Linked DNA regions of Homo sapiens: regions 1 and 3 are each linked to region 2. The links are contacts of gene promoters, found by promoter capture Hi-C in blood cells and fetal thymus (Javierre and others, 2016). All regions are on one chromosome and are shown on one strand. Each heading gives the region's core, a stretch centred on a gene start or on the middle of the fragment in contact. The rest is flanking DNA. Distances are from core to core; before and after follow the strand shown. Region 1 overlaps FER1L5 (fer-1 like family member 5). Region 2 holds the start of CNNM3 (cyclin and CBS domain divalent metal cation transport mediator 3). Region 3 overlaps FAM178B (family with sequence similarity 178 member B).

The links. The method cuts DNA at HindIII sites, captures the fragments that hold promoters and counts their contacts. A CHiCAGO score of 5 or more calls a contact.
Region 1: a fragment that was not itself captured here is called in contact with the fragment with the promoter of CNNM3 in region 2 in 2 of 17 cell types (M1 macrophages and naive B cells); the score reaches 5.4 in M1 macrophages.
Region 3: a contact is called between a fragment that was not itself captured here and the fragment with the promoter of CNNM3 in region 2, in 6 of 17 cell types (activated CD4 T cells, total CD4 T cells, naive CD8 T cells and 3 more). The highest score is 6.5, in activated CD4 T cells.

The regions. Positions count from the first base shown.
Region 1 is chr2:96,701,776-96,705,741 of GRCh38, forward strand. FER1L5 (fer-1 like family member 5) reads left to right here. Exons shown (of 53, transcript NM_001293083.2): 46 at 180-268; 47 at 531-626; 48 at 825-966; 49 at 1,203-1,302; 50 at 1,378-1,571; 51 at 1,748-1,857; 52 at 2,440-2,587; 53 at 2,693-3,108. The coding sequence ends at 2,917. Among named protein-coding and RNA genes, the nearest start is that of LMAN2L, 36 kb to the right of the region's middle. The HindIII fragment of the contact is 6,205 bases long and covers 1-3,966 here.
Region 2 is chr2:96,813,401-96,817,773 of GRCh38, forward strand. It overlaps CNNM3 (cyclin and CBS domain divalent metal cation transport mediator 3), which reads left to right and starts at 2,868. Exons shown (of 8, transcript NM_017623.5): 1 at 2,868-4,102. The coding sequence starts at 2,878. It overlaps CNNM3-DT (CNNM3 divergent transcript), which reads right to left and starts at 257. Exons shown (of 2, transcript NR_149141.1): 1 at 94-257. RefSeq lists an enhancer at 2,015-2,134 and silencers at 2,475-3,454, 3,465-3,604, 3,615-3,724. The HindIII fragment of the contact is 9,370 bases long and covers 130-4,373 here.
Region 3 is chr2:96,915,469-96,919,429 of GRCh38, forward strand. The region is part of intron 12 of FAM178B (family with sequence similarity 178 member B); the gene reads right to left. LOC101927053 (a long non-coding RNA gene) reads left to right here and starts at 3,638. Exons shown (of 3, transcript NR_110209.1): 1 at 3,638-3,961. The HindIII fragment of the contact is 8,021 bases long and covers 1-3,961 here.

The sequences.
Region 1 (3,966 bases), core at 151-2,650, 110 kb before region 2:
AAGAAAGGGGGAAGCTGGTGCGTGGTCACCTGCGGCCTCACAGATATCTCTGTACCCCACCCCTCGGTGTTGGGAACACAACCTCAACAGACCTCAGAACCTGGGACAGGGAACCCCAGGCCAGCCTGCTGAGAACAGAGGCTAGCAACCCCCAACCAGTCAATGTATCCCGGCTCTAGGGAAAGGTGCAAATGTGGGTGGACATCTTCCCCAAGAAGCTGGGGCCTCCTGGCCCCCAAGTCAACATCAACCCCAGAAAGCCTAAACGGTGAGTGACAGCCCACTTCCCAACTGCTGCATTTCACAGTTCAGAACTCCCCCAGTGCAGGGCACCACTGTCCTCAGGTACTGAGCTGCAGTAATTCGTTTCTCTATTGGGAAGAGAGGAAGCTCTACTGGGAGCTTTCTTCCCCTGAATTCCCCACACTGAGCAAAAACACACAGGGCAGCCTCCCAGGCTTCTCTGCCCTCACTGAGGCTGCAGCTGGGGAGCTCCTCCTCAGCAAAGCCTCAGAGCACAGTGGCCACAGGTATGAGCTGCGATGCATCATCTGGAAGACTGCCAATGTGGACCTGGTGGATGACAATTTAAGTAGAGAGAAGACGAGCGACATCTACATCAAAGGGTAGGGAAGAGGAGTCAGGCTCCGGCAGAGCCCCTCAGTTCCCCAGTTCTGTCATCCTGCTGGCACGGCCCAGTCCTGAATGGGACACCTCTCCATCCAGCTCTGCCTGGCGTCGGCTGGGCAGCCCTTCCCATGGGGCTCCAGCTGGGGGATGGGGCCAATGCACATGAGCCACAGGTGATAGGACTCTGGCCCCAGGTGGTTATACGGGCTGGAGAAGGACATGCAGAAGACAGACATCCACTACCACTCGCTGACTGGGGAGGCCGACTTCAACTGGCGGTTCATCTTTACCATGGACTACCTGGCGGCGGAGCGCACGTGTGTCCAGAGCCAGAAGGTAACAGGCCTGGGGCGTGAGGGGCAACAGGCCACAACAAACAGACCCAGGCTCCTGGAGCTCCTCCCCCCACCCCTCCAGAGGCTTGCAATCTGTCCCAGAACATCAGAAACATGTCCTCAGGTGGAAACCCTCTTCCTTGATAGTCTATCACTGCTGGGTGGAGGGCCACTGAGGGGTGCAAGGGAAACGTCCAGGAGACAGGCCGGTAACACGCCCTTCCGCCATTTCCCCAGGATTACATATGGAGCCTGGATGCCACGTCCATGAAGTTCCCAGCCCGACTTATCATCCAGGTCTGGGACAATGACATCTTCTCCCCCGACGACTTCCTAGGTGAGGTCCTGACACAGGGCTTGTGACCACAGGACAGGGAGCTCCTTCTTGCTGATGTCATTTTTCTGGGCTCAGGGGTCCTGGAGCTGGATTTGTCTGACATGCCCCTCCCGGCTCGGCACGCCAAGCAGTGCTCCATCAGGATGATGGACGCCGACCCCAAGTGGCCCTATTTCATCCAATACAAGCACTTCTCCCTCTTTAAGAAGAAGACTGTGACTGGCTGGTGGCCTTGCCAGGTCCTCGATGGTGGCAAATGGCGCTTGTCGGTAGGAGCTGGGGAGTGTCTACTGATTAGGGCTGCTATGCCACATGTCCTGGCTCTAACAGACATCTAGGGACCTAGCTAAATCCCTTTTCCTTTCTTGATCCCGGGAAGAGGTCCTAAAACTACCCGGCTCCTGCTGTCTGCACTCAGCCTCCCCCTCACCCATGGTGTTCCTAGGGCAAGGTGAAGATGAGCCTGGAGATTCTGTCAGAGAAGGAAGCCTTAATCAAGCCAGCCGGGCGAGGCCAGTCGGAACCCAACCAGTACCCCACACTTCATCCTCCCCTGTAAGGGTCCTTGGGGCAAAAGCACCAGATCTTTCTTGCTCCTCAGTGTGTATGGGGTGGTGACCAGTGGGCCTATCATGGAGAGGTGGTAATTACCTCCCACCCCACAGCTCTGTGCTCAGTTACAATCAGCAAAGAACAGACTTGGGGTGAGGGTTGGAGTAAGCAAAAGTTGCCTTTTTTTTTTTTTTTTTTTTTTTGAGATAATTGTCTCACTCTGTCACCCAGGCTGGAGTGTGGTGGCACAATCTCTGCTCACTGCAACCTCTGCCTCCTGGGTTCAAGCGATTCTCCTGCCTCAGCCTCCTGAGTAGCTGGGATAACAGGCACATGCCACCATGCCCGGCTAATTTTTGTATTTTTAGTAGAGACGCGGTTTCACCATGTTGGCCAGGCTGGTCTCAAACTCCTGACCTCAGGTGATCCACTCACCTCGGCCTCCCAAAATGCTGGGATTACAGGCGTGAGACACTGTGCCTGGCCCAGTAGTTGCTTTTTTAAAAAAGAAAGCTCTTTGCATCAGATTACTTGACCTGAAGGTTCTCCCTGCCATTCTCTGACATCTCCCTGGCTCCTGGACAGACGCACCAACACCTCTTTCACGTGGCTGCGGTCACCAGTTCAAAACTTCTGCTATATTTTCTGGAAACGCTATCGCTTCAAACTCATAGCCTTTATGGTCATATCGATTATAGCACTTATGCTGTTTAACTTCATCTATTCAGCTCCGGTGAGTGGCAGCCATGGGGGCAAGGACAAAGGTGGTCTCGGGATGACTCTGGGGACAGCGTCTTCAGCTTGCCACCCCAGGCTAACTGTTGTCTGTTCTCTCTAGCACTATTTGGCCATGAGCTGGATCAAACCTCAACTTCAGCTGTATCCTCCCATTAAAATATTCAATATCATCAATTCACTAAACACCAGCAACGCCAGCTCTTCCATCCTTCCCACCCAGGATCCAAACCTAAAGCCTACAATAGACCATGAGTGGAAACTCCACCCAGGACCCACAAATCACCTGAGTGATATTTTCCCAGAACTTCCAGCCCCAGGAGACTAATTAGTCCATGCTGCCTGGCTTTCCTCCTGCTACCAACAGCCCTCCCCTTGGGCTGGCTACCAGTTCTTTGTTTCTATCTTCTAGAATATATGCAAGATGCTAGGAATATTCTGGCTATTGTGTTCAGAAATCACTTTCAACAAGACGAGCAGAGCTGTAATTTTCCACTGAAATAAACAAGTTCTATAACAGAGAGCCATCTTGTAATTTGGGGGCGCTGAAGACAACATGAAAGGCTGAAGATGCCAGCCCTTCAGACAAGACTCACAGGGACAGGGAGTGATGTCATCTTTATATACCACCTCTAGTCCACAGGGTCTCTTCATGCTAAGAGGCTCGGAATCAGAGGGCAATGGAGGGAAAGGGTGATTGTGAGAAGTGGCCCTTATGGGTAAGCAGCAAGCCGAAGCACTGGCTCTCACCCACAGCATGCATGTACAGAACAGCCCTACCACGGACCAGGCATCTCCCTCCTCTAGCACAGCTAGGATGACACTGCCCAGGACAACATTCCACCCATTCATGATGGGAAACATTTGTTTCTAGAACAAAAAGCAAGAACCAAAGCAGGGCATCCTATGCCAGGTCAGGTGGTTTTCTTGCACCATACATTTCTCTAAAGGACCCCAAGGCAGGTGGGGACTGCATTTCATGTCTTCCCTGCCCTCTTTAAAAAGCCTCAAGGTATTCATGAGCTGGAATCATACAAACCCTACAGGTTCCATCTCTCTCACTCTGCCCCTCCCCTCTGATGAGACCCCTTCCACCTGCACTGCTGCCTTGGCCATCTCAAGAGCCCACCTAGGTCCTCCCACGGGTCCATACAATCTCCCCTTCAACTCAAAAAAGACAAAACCACCATTTTCTTTTTCAGTTCTCCCTGCTCCAAGGCCAAGCTCTAGGTCAGTTTGTCCTCTGGCACCCTGGAGCCATTCTACTATTGTGGAGGGGAGGTGGGAGGAAGATGCCTCCACCTGAATCCCACCTGCAGGAGAGCACTATAGCCTGTGCTGTTTAAGTGCATGGGAAGGAAAGAAAGCCTGAAGAGA
Region 2 (4,373 bases), core at 1,618-4,117:
TGCAAAAGGGAAACCACTCCAGGAGCAGCTTTGCGTGCCCCATATTGGATTTTTTTGTATCTTTGGGTACTGACAATTTAAATGACCACTTACGTTTTCCAAGTTTGATCCAATTGTTCTTCCACCTGAAGCTTTACTCCCAGAAAGTTAGTTATAGGTTGTTTTCCAAGGAAGCCTGAGACAAGGAAAAAGTAACCTGTTGAAGGTGAGAGCTCTGTCTCTAAATCCATGGGGAGTTTTTCCTGGCTTTTCTCTGGAACTGTTGTTTGTTAATGACTTTTCAGGCACATGACTCATTTCAAGCATGTCATCCATTCTATTTCAATGTCAGTATTTTATCTTGACGTGGAGACAGAAGTGAGAACTAAAGGAGCTGAATCTATTGTAATGTTTGCACTTTTTTTTTCTTCAGAGGCATGATGTTGCAGTGCAAAGGCCCAGTAATGTCTTTATTGCTTCTGCTGGCGGCTTACTCTGTAATCTGCAAAAGTAAGGTAAACTCAAAGGGCACAGAACATCACCTGAATAATAAAAAACACGGAGATGCCCCATTGGCCTAGTCACAGCTCTGAGTTTACAATGCAGAAGAGACACTATTACCATCTTTTAAAAATACACTATTACCTTTTTTTTTTTGAGATGGAGTCTCGCTCTGTCACCCAGGCTGGAGTGCAGTGGTGCGATCTTGGCTCACTGCAACCTCCGACTGCCTCCCGGGTTCAAGCGATTCTCCTGCCGCAGCCTCCTCAGTAGTTGGGACTACAGGCACCCGCCACCAAGCCCGGCTAATTTTTTGTATTTTTCGTAGAGACGGGGTTTCACCGTGTTAGCCAGGATGGTCTCCATCTTCTGACCTCGTGATGTGCCCGCCTTAGCCTCCCAAAGTGCTGGGATTACAGGCATGAGCCACCGCGCCGGGCCACTATTACCATTTTTTTTTTTTTGAGACATAGTCTTGCTCTGTCGCCCAGGCTGGAGTGCAGTGGCGTGGTCTCAGCTCACTGCAAGCTCCGCCTCCCGGGTTCACACCATTCTCCTGCCTCAGCCTCCCGAGTAGCTGGGACTACAGGTGCACGCCACCACACCTGGCTAATTTTTTGTATTTTTAGTACAGATGGGGTTTCACCATGTTAGTCCGGATGGTCTCGATCTCCTGACCTCGTGATCCGCCCGCCTCCGCCTCCCAAAGTGCTGGGATTACAGGCGTGAGCCACCGTGCCCGGCCAGCTATTACCATCTTTTAAAAAGTTTTTTACAGGCCGGGCGCGGTGGCTCACGCTTGTAATCCCAGCACTTTGGGAGGCCAAGGTGGGTGGATCACGAGGTCAGGAGATCGAGACCACGGTGAAACCCCGTCTCTACTAAAAATACAAAAAAATTAGCCGGGCGTGGTGGCGGGCGCCTGTAGTCCCAGCTACTCGGAGAGGCTGAGGCAGGAGAATGGCGTGAACCCGGGAGGCGGAGCTTGCAGTGAGCCGAGACTGCGTCACTGCACTCCAGCCTGGGTGACAGAGCGAGACTCCGTCTCAAAAAAAAAAAAAAAAGTTTTTTACAAAGCCTTTTCCTTTGGTCACTCACCACCAGCTTACTCATTTTTTTTTTTTTTTGCACATTACCTTCCACACAAGTTTTACTTTGTGGCCACAATGTGCATACTTTTTTTGATTGTTACTTTCATGACATAGCAAATTGTTTCTATAGAGTCTTTATAAAGGTCATTTAAAATGACATGTGCAGTAAGTCAAAGTCTTCTTGTGCTAGGAAATTTGAAAAAACAAAAGTGTAGAGAAAAATACAAAAATTACTGAATCTGAACATCTATAGAGAAGTGTTGTTAGCAGTTGGTTTATTTCCTTCCAATCACATACAGATCATATCTGATGGGTAAAGAATATTCCATACTGTCAACAGACCACACTGTCTTCTAAAATCGCTTCAGCAGTGAGGATCCTCTGGAATAGATCTTGTTAATCCTGAGGAATTATTCTCCCAGCGGTGAGCTATGAGAAGTGGAATCACCAGATGTAGTAATTCCTGACAGAACTGCCGCCTGCTTGTGTGGCTGAGATGCTGACCTAGGTATCAGGCTGGTCGCGCCGGAACCCAGCACCCACGCTGAGTCTTTCTGAGCTCCACTCTGCTCCTGTTAGATATTAACCACCTGAGGTAGCTGTCCAGATTCAAGGCGGTAGTGATTTTGTGTGTCTGTGTATTTATCACGGGGTCCGCGGCGGGAACGCAGGGGCTGTGTCCCACGTCCCCAAACCTCTAGTAGGGTACGGCGCGATGAACATCTTCCATAAACCTTAAACCTCCCGGCGCTCAGTCACTGGTTCTTATTTCAGCCCTCTTAGCCCCGTAGGTCGGCGCGCTGAAAACCTTTCTGGTACCTGGGGCCTTTCCTAAGAAAAAGGCACATGTCTCGCACATTTCAGTCTGGTCTGCAACTTCAGGCGCGCCAGCACCCGAGGTTCTTCCGACCGGCCGCTCCGCTCCCAAGCCGGGAACTTCCCAGAGAATTGGCTCGGCCTCCGGGCGCGGGGGACAGCATCGGGAGGAGTGGGACTCCGGGCGCCGCGCACGGGCCGAGGACAGCCGGGCTTGGGAGGCCCTGCCCGCCGCCCCGCGTCCTCCCGGCCACTGCCACCCCGCGCATCCGGAGCCGCAGCAGACTCGGCGGGGCCCGGAGCCCCACGCCCCCGGCCCGCCCCTGGCCGCCACTTGTTTACTCCCCGGCGCAGCCTAGTCCGACCCTGGGGCCCGCCCCCGCCCACCGCCTATTGGCCGAGGAGGCGCGAAGAGCCGTAACGATTGGCCCGGGGAGGCGCGGGGCGAGCGGGGTAGGCTGCGCGAGAGGCCGAGAGGGGGCAGCAGGCGATGGCGGCGGCGGTAGCTGCGGCGGGTCGGTTAGGCTGGTTGTTCGCCGCGCTCTGCCTGGGCAACGCCGCGGGGGAGGCCGCGCCGGGCCCGCGAGTGCTGGGCTTCTGCCTGGAGGAGGATGGAGCGGCGGGCGCGGGTTGGGTACGCGGAGGGGCGGCGCGGGACACGCCGGACGCCACCTTCCTCCTGCGCCTCTTCGGCCCGGGCTTCGCCAACAGCTCTTGGTCCTGGGTGGCCCCGGAGGGGGCGGGCTGCCGGGAGGAGGCGGCCTCCCCCGCGGGCGAGTGGCGCGCGCTGCTGCGCTTGCGCCTGCGGGCCGAGGCCGTGCGCCCGCACTCGGCGCTGCTGGCGGTGCGCGTGGAGCCGGGTGGCGGGGCGGCTGAGGAGGCGGCGCCGCCCTGGGCTCTGGGCCTGGGGGCGGCCGGGCTGCTGGCGCTGGCAGCGCTGGCGCGAGGCCTGCAGCTGAGCGCGCTGGCGCTGGCGCCTGCCGAGGTGCAGGTGCTGCGCGAGAGCGGCTCGGAGGCGGAGCGTGCGGCGGCGCGGCGTTTGGAGCCCGCGCGGCGCTGGGCCGGCTGCGCCTTGGGCGCGCTGCTGCTGCTGGCCAGCCTGGCGCAGGCGGCGCTGGCGGTGCTGCTGTACCGCGCGGCCGGCCAGCGTGCGGTGCCCGCCGTGTTGGGCAGCGCGGGGCTCGTGTTCCTGGTGGGAGAGGTGGTGCCGGCCGCCGTGAGCGGGCGCTGGACGCTGGCGCTGGCGCCGCGAGCGCTCGGCCTCAGCCGCCTGGCCGTCCTGCTCACTCTGCCCGTCGCGCTGCCCGTGGGGCAGCTGCTGGAGCTGGCGGCGCGGCCCGGGCGGCTGCGGGAGCGGGTGCTGGAGCTGGCGCGCGGCGGCGGCGACCCCTACAGCGATCTCAGCAAGGGCGTGCTGCGCTGCCGGACCGTGGAGGACGTGCTCACGCCCCTCGAAGACTGCTTCATGCTGGACGCCAGCACCGTGCTGGACTTCGGCGTCCTGGCCAGCATCATGCAGAGCGGCCACACGCGCATCCCGGTGTACGAGGAGGAGCGCTCCAACATCGTGGACATGCTCTACCTCAAGGACTTGGCCTTCGTGGATCCCGAAGACTGCACGCCGCTCAGCACCATCACTCGTTTCTACAACCATCCGCTCCACTTCGTCTTCAACGACACCAAGCTGGACGCTGTCCTGGAGGAATTCAAGCGAGGTAACGGCCCGGGCATGGTGCAGGGGACGCCCGTGCGAGTGCCCTCTCCCTGAAAAGGGGTGGAGAGTTATGGAAGCCTTCTGGAAAGGGTCCCACCCCTGTGGAGAGCAGTGAGACCTCTAAGGTCCCTTTTCAAGACGGTATTGGCCTTGCAGCTTGGAATGACCTTTTGAAATACTTAAAGGCCATCGATCAGAGTGGGAGGAATCCTTTAGACAGCGAACACTTTAACCCCCGCGTCAGGATAGCCCCCCCCCCCCATTTGCAGGGA
Region 3 (3,961 bases), core at 259-2,758, 100 kb after region 2:
GAACTGGCTGTGGGGGTAAGAGCAGGAGCTTGGAGGCCGACAGGGTCTTTAGAAAGGGGAAATAAGAGGATGGGCACGGTGGCTCACGCCTATAATCCCAGCACTTTGGGAGGGCGAGGCGGGCAGATCACAAGGTCAGGAGTTCAAGACCAGCCTGCCCAACATGGAGAAACCTCGTCTCTACTAAAAATACAAAAATTAGCTGGGTGTGGTGGCACGCACCTGTAGTCCCAGCCACTTGGGAGGCTGAGGCAGGAGAATCGCTTAAACACGGGAGGCGGAGGTTGCAGTGAGCTGAGACTGTGCCATTGCACTCCAGCCTGGGCGACAGAGTGGGAAAAAAAAAAAAAGAAAAAGAAAAAAAGAAAGGGGGAAATAAGCCCTAGGCAACCAAAAACACTCCTATTAACCTCACACCCAAAGATGGCCTTTCTTTTCCCCTAAACAGAATTGGCATCACACTTTACATATGGCTTCAAAGCCTTTTTTCCACTCAGCGTATTTCATTAACTTTCCCATTTTCCTGTGACATCATTTTTAGGTACCATATAATACTCCGTAGCACGGGCAGAACTGAATCGATGGTGGGGCACTGAGGCAATTTCCAGTTCTTCACTATCATGACATTGCTATGCCAAACATCCTTGTCAATGAATCTTTGCCATCTAGTTCCCCAGAAAACGATCTAGCTTTTTGAAGGGTGTGCACATTTTAAAGTCATTTGCTTGATTTTGCCAAACTGGCCTCCAGAGGGACTACTGACCGCATCTCATGAGCAGGGAAGCATATGCCTGTTTCCTCACATCCTGCCAACACTGGGCAGCACTGTCCTTTCGGATTGATTCTGGTCTGCCAGGCAAGGAACTCTACGTCATTGTCAGGGCTGGTTTCGTGAGCCGTTTTACGCAGGCTTTGTCCATTCCTCCATCTGACCAGGCAGCCTGCGGGAGCTGGCTTCATCTGACCTTCTGCTTTGAAGCAGCGCACACAGGATGTTTAATGAATAGCCGCAGGCAGTGAAGGAAGAGGATCCCCAGAGCCTGGGACATCAGCTTTCAGTAGAGTGCAAGCAGTTGCAGGAGCCCTGAACAGAAGTGGGGATGGCATGCTGCTCTTCCCAAAGCTGCCTGAGCTGCCCCAATGGCGCCACCTCCCAAGGTGGATGTTCCTCCAAGAACCTCCTCTTCCCCTTGGCTCTGTTTCAGGTGGTCTGCCTTAGTATTCACTTTCATTTTTCATGGTTAGGCCCAGCTCTTCCTTACATTTGCAGTGCATCCCATGAAGTCTTGAACGCTGAGGCAGGGGCTGCGGGTGTACTGCATGAGTGTCAGCAGGAGTTCTCGCTTTGTGCTTAACCAGTCAGTCGAGCAGACAAAGAGTGTGACAGCCCTTCGTACACCAATCTGCCCTTCTTCCTGGGGTCAGTCTGGGCACAGAGCCCAGTGGGGCAGCCACCAGTGAAGGCAGCCAGTAAGCTCTGTGGCCGCCGCGGGAAGCACAGTGGAGCAGCAGCTCACTGAAGACCCACAGTGAGTACAACGCGGCAGGAAAAAAGAATTAGGAGCCCTTTACAACCCAATCAGGGATGACGGCCAGAACACACCCTGAAGAGCAAAGAAGGTGCGGAAACGGCGGGTACGTGCACACGCAGACAGAGGCTGGCGGCCAGCCAGGTGGCTCTGGCTCAGGGGAAGAAGCGCATTTTCAACATCAAATTTGAAAGGAGTACTTTCAAAAAGGTACTCCTTGGTACCTTACGAATTTTGTTTTATTTGAATGCTTTTATCTATTTAGAAAAATAAAATCAATAACACTGATCCCGATAAGGCACCCTCCTTCCTAGTAAAGCTCTTGGCACAAAGCATCACCCTGCTGACGTGGCTGCCTGAAAGGCAGGCGCAAGATGCTCTGTTTCATTCATTTCCTGGCATTTAAAGGGCAATTGCCATGGGCCCTGGAGCTACCCACAGATTCCACAAAAGACACTGATTCATGAAATCACAGTTTAACATGGCTAGCAGATGAAGGAGTGAAGTCATAAACTTAGGATATGGAGAAGGTAGCTTCAAATCTGTCTTGAAAGGATGAATTATTAAGACCAAAAAGCTGAGGCATGGTGGCTCACACCCGTGATCCCAGCAGTTTGGGAGGCTGAAGTGGGAAGATCACTTCAGCCCAGGGATTTGAGATCGGCCTGCACAACATAGGGAGACCTTGTCTCTACTAAAAATTTAAAAATTAGATGGGTGTGTTGGCATCTGTCTGTAGTCCTAGCTACTAAGGAGGTTGAGGCAGGAGGATTACTTGATCCCAAGAGGTCGAGGCTGCAGTGAGCCATGATGGTACCACTGCACTCCAGCCTGGGTGACAGAGTGAGACCCTCTCTCAAAAAACAAAACAAAAGGCAGAAAAATTGACGTTGGGTCCCCACTGGCTGTTTGGGGATGGAAAAAATCAAGTTAGATCCTTCTCTCATACCAAGGACAAACAGATTTGAGTTGGGATTAAGAGCTGATGGACACAAAGTAAAGCCAGTCCTGAAAGAGAAGAAAGCACACTATCTTTATGGTCTTGGTGGGGAAACCCTTCGTCTTCCACATGGAAAGATTACATTACACAAAAATCCCAATCAATTCTCTGCATTATCCATAAAACTGTCCTGTAAATCTAAATCTATTCTAAAATAAAAAAAAAAAGGACTGAAAAAGTAAAAAAAAAAAGAAAAAAAATTCCAGTTCACTGAAAGGTACCATACATAAAGATTTAAAAAGGACAATCTATATAACCTTTGGAGAAAACATACTGTAACATAATAAGCAACATGAAGATCAACAGAGTTGATAAGAAGATAAATTAACTGATAGGAAAGTGGGTAAGAAATACCAAAAGGTAATTTACAGTAAGAGAAACACAAAAGGCCAATAAATACATGAAAAGATACTCAGTTTCACTGGCAATCAGGGAAATGAAAATTAGAACCACAGGATGATGTTTTCCACTCACCAGATTGACTAAAACTCAAAAACAAAACTGGGAATATGTAGTATTAATGAGAATGCAGAAAAATATGCACTTTCATACCTATTTGGTGGTGTTACTAATAGGTCCAGCTTTACATACTTTAGGGTTGCAATTTCACATCAAGGAATTTATCTCATAGAAATATCTGCACAGACACTAAACAGTCACTGGAAGAATGTCCAGTATTAGTAAGGGAGGACACCACCCCTCATGTTATCTTATGCCCAATTTCTGCCTCAAAGAAAAAGTAGGAGTTAAAGAAAAGAAAGAAATGAAATCAGTAGTCAGACAGCCCAGTGCTGCGTTCCAGGCCTGGTAGTTACAGACTGACCCCTGACTTAACCGGTTTATGTTATCTATAGATTCCAGACATTACACGGGACAGCACTGTGAAAAACCCTGTCCTGTTCTGTTCCATTCTGATTACCAGTGCATGCAGCCCCCAGTCACGTACCCACGGCTTGCTCAATCGATCACGACCCTCTCACGCGGGCTCTCTTAGAGTTGTAAGCCCTTAAAAGCGACAGGAATTGCTGACTCAAGCAGCTCGGTTTTTGGAGACGTGAGCCCGTCAATGCTCCCAGCTGAATAAAGCCCTTTCCTTCCACAACTTGGTGTCTGAGGGGTTCTGGACTGTGGTCGCCCTGCTACATTAGGAGACTACAGTGGCACACACACTAGGGAAATACTATGCAGCTGTGAAAAGAGTGAGGTTTATTGTGTGTATGTGTGAGAAAAACAACCACAAACACCATGCCCTGGATGGAGCAAATGAGAAACTGGCTGGACGAGGTGGATGAGGGGGCCTAGGGACCAGCCTAAGAATTTGCACCTGGCCCTGCAGGCAATGGGGAGCATGGTAAGGCAGAGACGTGATCATCACAGGAACCCCCAGGCATCTACAGAGCAGGCAGACTTTGGAGAAGAGGAAGAAATGCCT